3 separate regions of the Homo sapiens genome follow, and regions 2 and 3 are each linked to region 1. Evidence: promoter capture Hi-C in human tissues and cell types (Jung and others, 2019). All regions are on one chromosome and are shown on one strand. The core of a region is centred on a gene start or on the middle of the fragment in contact, and the rest is flanking DNA. Distances in the headings are between cores, read along the strand shown.

The links. The method cuts DNA at HindIII sites, captures the fragments that hold promoters and counts their contacts. A contact is called where the count stands out against the background at its distance.
Region 2: a fragment that was not itself captured here is called in contact with the fragment with the promoter of SARDH in region 1 in 3 of the 25 tissues and cell types used here (bladder, mesendoderm cells and thymus).
Region 3: a contact is called between a fragment that was not itself captured here and the fragment with the promoter of SARDH in region 1, in 2 of the 25 tissues and cell types used here (lymphoblastoid cells and spleen).

The regions. Positions count from the first base shown.
Region 1 is chr9:133,737,025-133,739,751 of GRCh38, reverse strand. SARDH (sarcosine dehydrogenase) reads left to right here and starts at 1,400. Exons shown (of 21, transcript NM_001134707.2): 1 at 1,400-1,498. The HindIII fragment of the contact is 19,009 bases long and covers 1-2,727 here.
Region 2 is chr9:133,967,083-133,969,809 of GRCh38, reverse strand. The region is part of intron 1 of VAV2 (vav guanine nucleotide exchange factor 2); the gene reads left to right. Among named protein-coding and RNA genes, the nearest start is that of VAV2, 24 kb to the left of the region's middle. The HindIII fragment of the contact is 3,149 bases long and covers 1-2,727 here.
Region 3 is chr9:133,900,874-133,903,600 of GRCh38, reverse strand. All of the region lies in intron 2 of VAV2 (vav guanine nucleotide exchange factor 2), which reads left to right. Among named protein-coding and RNA genes, the nearest start is that of VAV2, 90 kb to the left of the region's middle. RefSeq lists an enhancer at 659-728. The HindIII fragment of the contact is 4,251 bases long and covers 1-2,727 here.

The DNA.
Region 1 (2,727 bases), core at 151-2,650:
GGCAAGCCACACCATCCAAAGAGGAGGTCCTCTGCCCCAGGACCCCCACACCACCCCAGGTAAGCCTCAAACTGGCGGGGCCAGCTTTCCACTGGGCAGCCAGGGGCCTAAGCCAGTGGGCCCTTTGCCTTTGAGGCAGGGACTGAGAATGGTGTCAGCACGTGGTCAGGCCCAGAGCCCAGGCCCCCTCCTCTAAGAGGTCCTCCTGGATTCCCTGCTGGAAGGAAGCCAGCCTTGTGGTGTCGTGTCTCTCCCTGGATCTGTCTGCTTCGTGGACCCTGAGCCCCTCGAGGGCAGGGGCTGGGTCTTAGATGTCACTATAGGTTTCCCAGCAGTGCTTTGTACACATTGGGCATTCAGTAAATGTAGAGGATAGACAAGCTGGCAACAAGACAGTCGGACATCCTCGGTGTGAATAAGAACACAATGATTTGATTGGTATTAATTACAGCAGTTTACTATACGATCGCTTCCGGTATTGGCAGCTGGCATCATTACAATATTAACAGACTGCCATTGAAATGCCCCGTCTTTGATCCAGCGCGAGGAGGAGATGTGACTTTCCATCAGCACCTGTTCTGATTCTTTGGGCATCCAGAGGTGTATTCTTTCTGGGTTTCCTCCACACCCCTCCTCTGGGTGTCTACTTCTGTCTGGGAAGGGGTAACTTGCCCCAGCCCAGAGTCAGGCTGCAGCATCCGGTCTGCCTCCTCCACCAGCTTGCTGTGTGGCCCCCTCCCTGGGCACTGCTGTCCCCAACAGTCAATGGAGGCTGGAATCCCTGCCCTGGGGGCTACGTGCTGTGCAGTAGCCAGTGGCTTGGGGGCATCTCCCCAAACACCAGAGGGGTCTGGGAGCTCGGGAAAGCAGGACGCAGACAGACCAGGAGACCCTGTCCCTGGGAAGCTGACCCAGGCCTTCTCACTCGCCTCTGAAGGCAGTGAGCATCCTGTCCCTGGGGGTGAGCAAACTGGGGCATGTGCTGAGATGACCTCACCAAAGGAGCCTCCCTGCAGTGGACGGGCCCCTGGCCCAAGCTGCTGCTGACCCCACCTTTCCTGCCCACCCTGCCTGTGCATAGCTCCTTCTGGGCGCGGGGAGCTCGGGCGGCTCCAGCAGGCAGGTGGTGCCTGGGTCTACTGCAGCAACCCTGAGGCGCCTGTTTCAGAGACGAGGAAATGAGGGTTGGAGCGGAAGGGTGACTGCCAGGTCGCCTACGGGTAATGGGGCATGGGGTTCACAACCCTGCTCTGCCGCCCTCAGAGGGAGCTGCCCACAGGGCTGGCCTAGAAGCCCCAACTAAGCTGGCCTAGAAGCCGCAGTGGTGGGCGGTACGCTCCGCCCAGATCCTGGGCGGAGACATGGGGCTGGCAGCGAGGGTGGGGGGCGGGGGAGGCCTGGAGTTCCGGCCAGGCCACTGCTTGGGAAGCAAGAAGGTGAAGGCACCTCTGCTGGGCCAAGCACTCTTAGGGCCGAGGGGCACTGCAGCTGACAAGAGGTACTTGGAGGTACACCCCCAGGGAGGGACGAGGCTGGGGCCTCCCCTATGTGGGCGGGGCTGGGCCTGGTCAGATCTGGCTGGGATCTCCCTCTGCCTCTGGCTGCAGGGACCATCCAGCTGCATGAGCAGGACCAGGGTTCACCATATGGGCAGCTGCCTCCCCGCCCCCTGCCGCTCCTCCCCACAAGTCTGCCTACCCTCACCAGGCGAAGGTGCCAGGCGCTCTCCTCGCTTGACCCCCACCACCCCCTGAGCCTGGGAGGAGGAGGGCGTTCCTGGGTCCTCTGCTTTGCAGTGAGGTTAAGTTGTTGCTCGAGGCCCCAGTCCTGTGACAAAACCCCCACCCATCTGTCTGATCCCAAGCCCAGGGCTGTCCTCAGCCCTCACTCCTGGGAAGCTGACTCAGGTACGAGACAGAGTTGGAGGGGGCAAGAGAGTGGGTTAATGTGGAGGCAGCTGTTTCCAGGGAGGTGGCAGGCAGGAGGGGCTCTGGGCTGTCCCCGCTGGGGCCGCTGCCAGCCCCCAGTCTGACAGTCAGAAGAGCCCTGACTGACCAGGCAGGTGGTGAAGGGGCACGTGGCAGCCTCCGGCGCCAGCAGCTGTCGCTTTTTGGGCACAGTCGGAAGGAGGAGGGAGGCTTTTGCCCACAGCTGACCAGGTGTGCTGTGCCATGCGGCACCGTGGTGGGTGGTGGGTGGTGGGGTGGGGGTGTTCAGCCTTGGAGGGCCTTCCTCGGTGCCACTCAAGCTGGCTTTCCCCTGGTGGGGCACCACTTTTGGGGGCTCCTGGAAGACTGTGGACCTTCAAGGACTGAAGGTATGTACAGACACATGCAGGAGGCATGCCTCCTTGTCCGGGGCCACCTCTGCAGGCAGGAGCCAGGCGGGCTGACACACTGAGGGCTGAGAGGCTGAGGACAAGCTCCAACACCTCCTCACTCCCCTACGCCGCTGCAATCAGACTCCCTGCTCCCTCCCTTGGGATGGGGCACTGGGGCAGGAGATGGGGGGCAGCCCTGACCAGCCTGAGAGCTGGGATCCCCCTCACATCCCCCACTGTGCCTAGGACAGGGTTCTGGGCTTCGTCAGGGCTTGGGCAGTGCCCACAGTTCAGGTGGGACAGAGTGTGGCAGTGGGTCCTGAGTCCCCCTGGGATGGTCAGAAGAGGGGGCAGGAGAGAGTCCCTGGCACTGCCACATGGAGGCCCTATGACCCTGGTCACCTCAG
Region 2 (2,727 bases), core at 79-2,578, 230 kb before region 1:
GGCAGATGGGGGTGTCCAGGCTGGGGGGTGGGGAGAGAAGTGGGAATGGAGAGAGATGGACGGCCCCGCTGGAGCGCAGGAGGAGTGGGTGGGCTTGGGGTGGATTGGACTTGGGTGATGAAGAGGGTGCTCTGGGGTCAGGCTTGAGCAGTGCGATGGACAGTGGGGCTCATCTGGAGTTGGCCCTAGGGGTTCAAGTCCCCCACTGGCCAAGGTTGCAGGGATGTCTGGGTTCTCCCAGCAGCCTTCCTGGAATCCGCTCTGGTCAGGGTTGGGGTGTTTCAGCTCCACCCCTGAGGTTCCCTGGTTGGCCTCAGGCTTCTTGTCTCAGTGGTGCTGATGCTGGTTGGTGTCCAGGTTTGCTGGACTTGAAGGTGGGAGGTCAGTGGTCTTGGTGGGTCTGGCCCCAGCCTGGGAGTGACCAAACTTAGCAGCCTCTGGCACTGTCAGATCCCTGGAGAGAGACGTCTGATTGGCACAGACTGAATTCCAGATCCTCCCTCCTTCCCTGTTCGTTGTATTCTCTACCATGCCAGCAGCGCAGCCGTGAGAAGCCGCAGTTCATCCGGCAGGAGGGAAGCAGGTGCAGAGGCTCGTCCTCGCAGGCCCGGCGGGCACGGTGGAATCCAGCTCTCGTCCTCGCAGGCCCGGCGGGCACGGTGGAATCCAGCTCTCGGGGGAAGTGTGAATCCCGGCATGTGGGATTCATCTCAGGCAACTAGACGGCTTTCACCGACACCCGGCCAAACTGCCTCAAAACCCAAAACAGTTGTCTCTTATTTTTAAGTGGTTTTTGCCTGTGGAAAGAGTGGTTTTTCTTAGAAAAGGGCACTGCCTTAGATTGATTTTTGGGGGACTCACTTATTGCTATTGATCTGTTAAAGCTTTAATCGGGAAATAGCCTCGTGGTGGTTCTCAGTGAGGCACATTTGCTGCAACCGAGGGTGGCTGTGCTGTCGCGAGCCGCTGAGCCAGCCAGCCGGGGGTCTCGAGACACCCTCCAGATCTGAGCTGGGGACAGGGCCCTACCCCGGCAGGTCCCAGGAGTGAGCCCAGGGCTGACAGAGGACAGTGCCATGGTCTGAAGCTGCACGAGAGGCAGAGGCCGATGGTGGCTCTCTCTCCCGGCTACAAGGCTCTGTGATGGGTCAGTGTGTGGCTGGAGGATGTCCCCAGGCAGCCCCAGAGCCCGGGTCGTGTAGGCTCTAGAGGACCGGCAGCTCTGTCCAGGCCCCCGGGGATGGCCCCATGGGTAGGGACCCTGGGGACCATGGGACTGGCCCCGAGCGCGTTTCTCTTCCTCTTCATGTTGCCTGGTGCATGGGTGGTACCAGAGCTTTGACAACTGCATCTCTGAGCCTCTCTTGCCTTTTGGTGGTGTTTTTCCCCCCCACAACCTTTTCAAATGTATTATTTATTTATTTAATTGGTACATAATAATTGTACGTTGTTTATGGGGTATGTGTGACACTTTGATACACATATGCCATTGTTTATGGGGTATGTGTGACACTTTAATACACATATACCGTGTGTAATGATGAAATGAGGGTCATTAGGATGCCCATGATCCCAAACATGTGGCATTTCTTTGTGTTGGGAACATTTCACGTCCTCTCTTCTAGTTATTTTGAAATATGCAAGAAGTTATCGTTAACTGTAATCCTCCTGCCGTGCTTCTGAGCACTAGGACTCGTTCCTGTCTAATTGCATGTTTGCCCCCATTAACCAATCTCTCTTCACTTTCCTGTCGCCCCACCCAGTCTCTGATGTCCATCATTCCACTCTGTCCCTCCATGAGGTCAACTTTTTTAGCTTTAACATATGAGAGAGACATCATATGATATTTAGGTTTTTTTTTTTTTTTTTTTTTTTTGGTTATAGAGTCTTCCTCTGTTGCCCAGGCTGGAGTGCAGTGGTGTGATCTTGGCTCACTGCGACCTCCACCTCGTGGGTTCAAGCCATTCTCCTGCCTCAGCCTCCTGAGTAGCTGGTACTACAGGTGCACACCACCACATCCGGCTAATTTTTGTATTTTTAGTAGGAGATGGGGTTTCACCACGTTGGGCGGGCTGGTCTCAAACTCCTGGCCTCAAGTGATCCACCAGCCTAGGCCTCCTAAAGTGCTGGGATTATAGGTGTGAGCCACTGCACCCGGCCCATATGATATTTAGCTTTCTGTGTCTGGCTTTTTTCACTTAACAATGACCTCTAGTTCCATCCACATTGCTGCAATGACAGGATTTTATTCTTTTTCATGGCTGAATAGTATTCTATTGTGTATATATGTCACATTTTCTTTATCCATTCATTCACTGATATTTAGGTTGATTGTGAATAGTGCTACGGTAAAGGTGGGAGTGCAGATATATCTCAAACACTGATTTCCTTTCTTTTGTTTACATGCCTGGTGGTAGGATTGCTGGATCAGGCAGATCTCTTTTTAGTTTTTTGAGGACCCTCTGTACTGTTTCCTATAGTGGCTGTATTAGTCTACGTTCTGACCAGCAGTGTACTAGTGTTCCCCTTTCTCCACATCCTTGCCAGCATCTGTTGATTTCTTGTTGATAATAGCTATTATAACTGGGGTGAGATGGTATCTCGTTGTGGTTTTGGCTTGCATTCCTGTGATGATTAGTGATGTTGAGCATTTTTTCACATGCCCGTTGGCCATTTGTATGTCTTTTGAGAAATGTCTTAATAACAGATTATTTACCCGTTTAAAAA
Region 3 (2,727 bases), core at 111-2,610, 160 kb before region 1:
CCATGTCCGACTTTGTGTCCTGAGAACCCCAGAAAAGGCTTGTGTGCAGCCCCCACCCCCATATTTTCTAAGTGATACAAAACCTCTCCTGACTGGCAGGTGATGTGGCCGTCACATCTCCCGGGATTGTTGTTTCAGCCCCTGTCTTTTGAGCCTGATGTGGGGCTCCAGGGGATGGGGCAGACCTGGCACGCCCTCACAGAGGGAATCCCGGTGCAGGGTGGGCATGGGACCCTGAGCCGGGAGCACCACCCAGCGTGGGGTAGAGGAAGGGGCCCGAGGGACAGTGCAGCGGGGAGGGAAGGAGCCCTGTGAAACCACCGAAATGTACTGGAACCGAAATGAGGCTGGAAGTCTGAGATCAGGGTGGCGGCGGGGCTGGTGCCTTCTGGGGCACAGGGAGACTGTGTCCCGGGGCACTCTCCTGGGCTTGCAGACGGCGTCTTCTCTTTTTGTATTCTTGTCGTCTTTCCTCTGTGCCTATCTCTGTGTCCAAACTACCTCTTTTTTTTTTTTTTTTTTCCTGGGGCAGGGTTTCGCTCTTGTTGCCCAGGCTGGAGTGCAGTGGCCTGATCTTGGCTCACTACAACCTCTACTTCCCGGGTTCAAGTGATTCTCTTGCCTTAGCCTCCCTAGTAGCTGGGATTACAGGTGTGCATCACCACACCCAGCTAATTTTGTATTTTTAGTAGAGATGGGGTTTTACCACGTTGGCCAGGCTGGTCTTGAACTCCTGACCTCAAGTGATCCATCCACCTGTCTTGGCCTCCCAAAGTGCTGGGGTTACAGGCGTGAGCCATTGCGCCTGGCAAACTTCCTCTTTTTATAAGGACACGGGTCATATTGGATTAGGTCCCACCCCAGTGACAACATTTTAACTTGATTTCTCTTTGAAGTCTCTGTACAAGTAAGGTTAAATTCTGAGGTCCTGGGGATTAGCACCCCTATGTATCTTTTTTGAGGGGACACAGTTCAACCCGAAACACTCCCTCATTTTTCTTTTGAGCAGATGTGTGTCTTCCCCTGCACCAAATGTGGGAACCTGTCTGCAGCCTGCACCCCAGCACCCCTGGCCTCTGGATACCCTGGGGGGTTTGTGGGTGAACATTTTCTCTACTGGAGCTCTGGGAGAACAGAAACATCTCAATGTGGGAGTCTCCCCGCTTCCAGTGCTGGCCGCATTTCAGGCTCCGCAAATCTGGGGATGTGGTAGCCCCAAGGCCGCAGCCGTGTCTGCATGGAGGAGGTTTGGTCAAATTCAGAGGGCTCTGCCTTCGTGGGGCCAGGTGTCCTGTGTCCTGCAGCAGAGGCTTCTGACATGTCCCAGGCCCTGTGCATGTTGTGTGGATTGTCCTGCGTGGTCCTCACACGTCCGACGCAGATGCCCGTTCCTATCCCAGTGTATAGACAATGAAGTTGGGTCTCAGGGAGGCCAATTGCAGGGGGAGCTGATGGGCCTGGCCTTAAATTGGGTCTTCCTGGGTCCAAGTCTGTGATCTCCATGGTCCTGACGAAACTGTGTCACTTTTGGCCCAGAGAGGTGGGGGTGGGAGGTTCTGGTCTGACCTGTAGGACATGGAGGCTCGGAGCATCCACAGAGTCTCCTGACGTGCAGACCACTAAGGCAGGCAGAGATGTGTGGTAGGAGGAGGTGCATGGTAGGGACGTCGGCCCATCTCCTTTGGCCTCTGGAGCGCAGCTGTCCTCCCCACCCCCAGCCCCCTCCGATGGTGGTGGCACATTGCCACTGACCCCATCGGCCCGTCTCCTGGGAAAAGGTAGAATGTGGCAGTGGGCGCTGGGGTTCCAGAGTCAGGGACAGCAGGGCTGTCTGTGCTTACGGGAGGGCCTGGTGTCAGAACAGTGGGGGAAATAAATACCCCAGGAGGGATGGGCCCAGCCCAGTGCCTACAGACCTAGGTAGAGTCACCAGGCCGGGCCGGCAGGAGCCCCTCAGGGCAGCTCCGGGCCCTTGCTGGAGGGCAGGAGAGGCCCCTGCGGCTCAGGGCCAGCCTCCCCATGTGGGCTCTCTGGCAAGGTAGTTGGACTTTTTTATGTGGCACCCACGGAAGCTTCTAGGCCTCATGAGACCAGGCTCGAGGTGGTGCCATGGCTCTCCCGACAGGCTCCCCTGGTCAGAGCCACCACAGGCCATGCTGGATCCGGGGAGGACACAGACCCTGCCTCTTGATGGGAGGAGTCTCAGAGAGTGTGCAGCCATCTTTACTCTGCCTCAGGGTCCCTGTCACAAACGGGGAATAACCATGCCTCTTCTGAGGCTCGGGAGGAGACGATCTGAGGAGACCCGTGGGGAGTGGGTAGCCGGCCTGTTGAATGGCAAGCGCCCAATAAATGGTCGCCATTGTGACCACTGGGCCCCCGGAGTGGTGCTTTTACATGAAATGTTCCTAAAACTGGGCCATGGTTTTCAATATCAGTTGAGAGTGTTGGGGCTAAGGCCCTTGGCCCCCTTAAGGTTCACTGGAAAATCAGACAGGAGAGGCTGGGCACGGTGGCTCATGCCTATGATATCAGCACTTTGGGAGGCTGAGGCGGGCAGATCACCTGAGGTCAGGAGTTGGAGACCAGCCTGGCCAAAACGGTGAAACCCCGTCTCTACTAAAAATACAAAAATTAGCCGGGCGTGATGACACGCACCTGTAATCCCAGCTTCTCGGGGGAGCTGAGACAGGAGAATTGCACGAACCCGGGAGGCGGAGGTTGCAG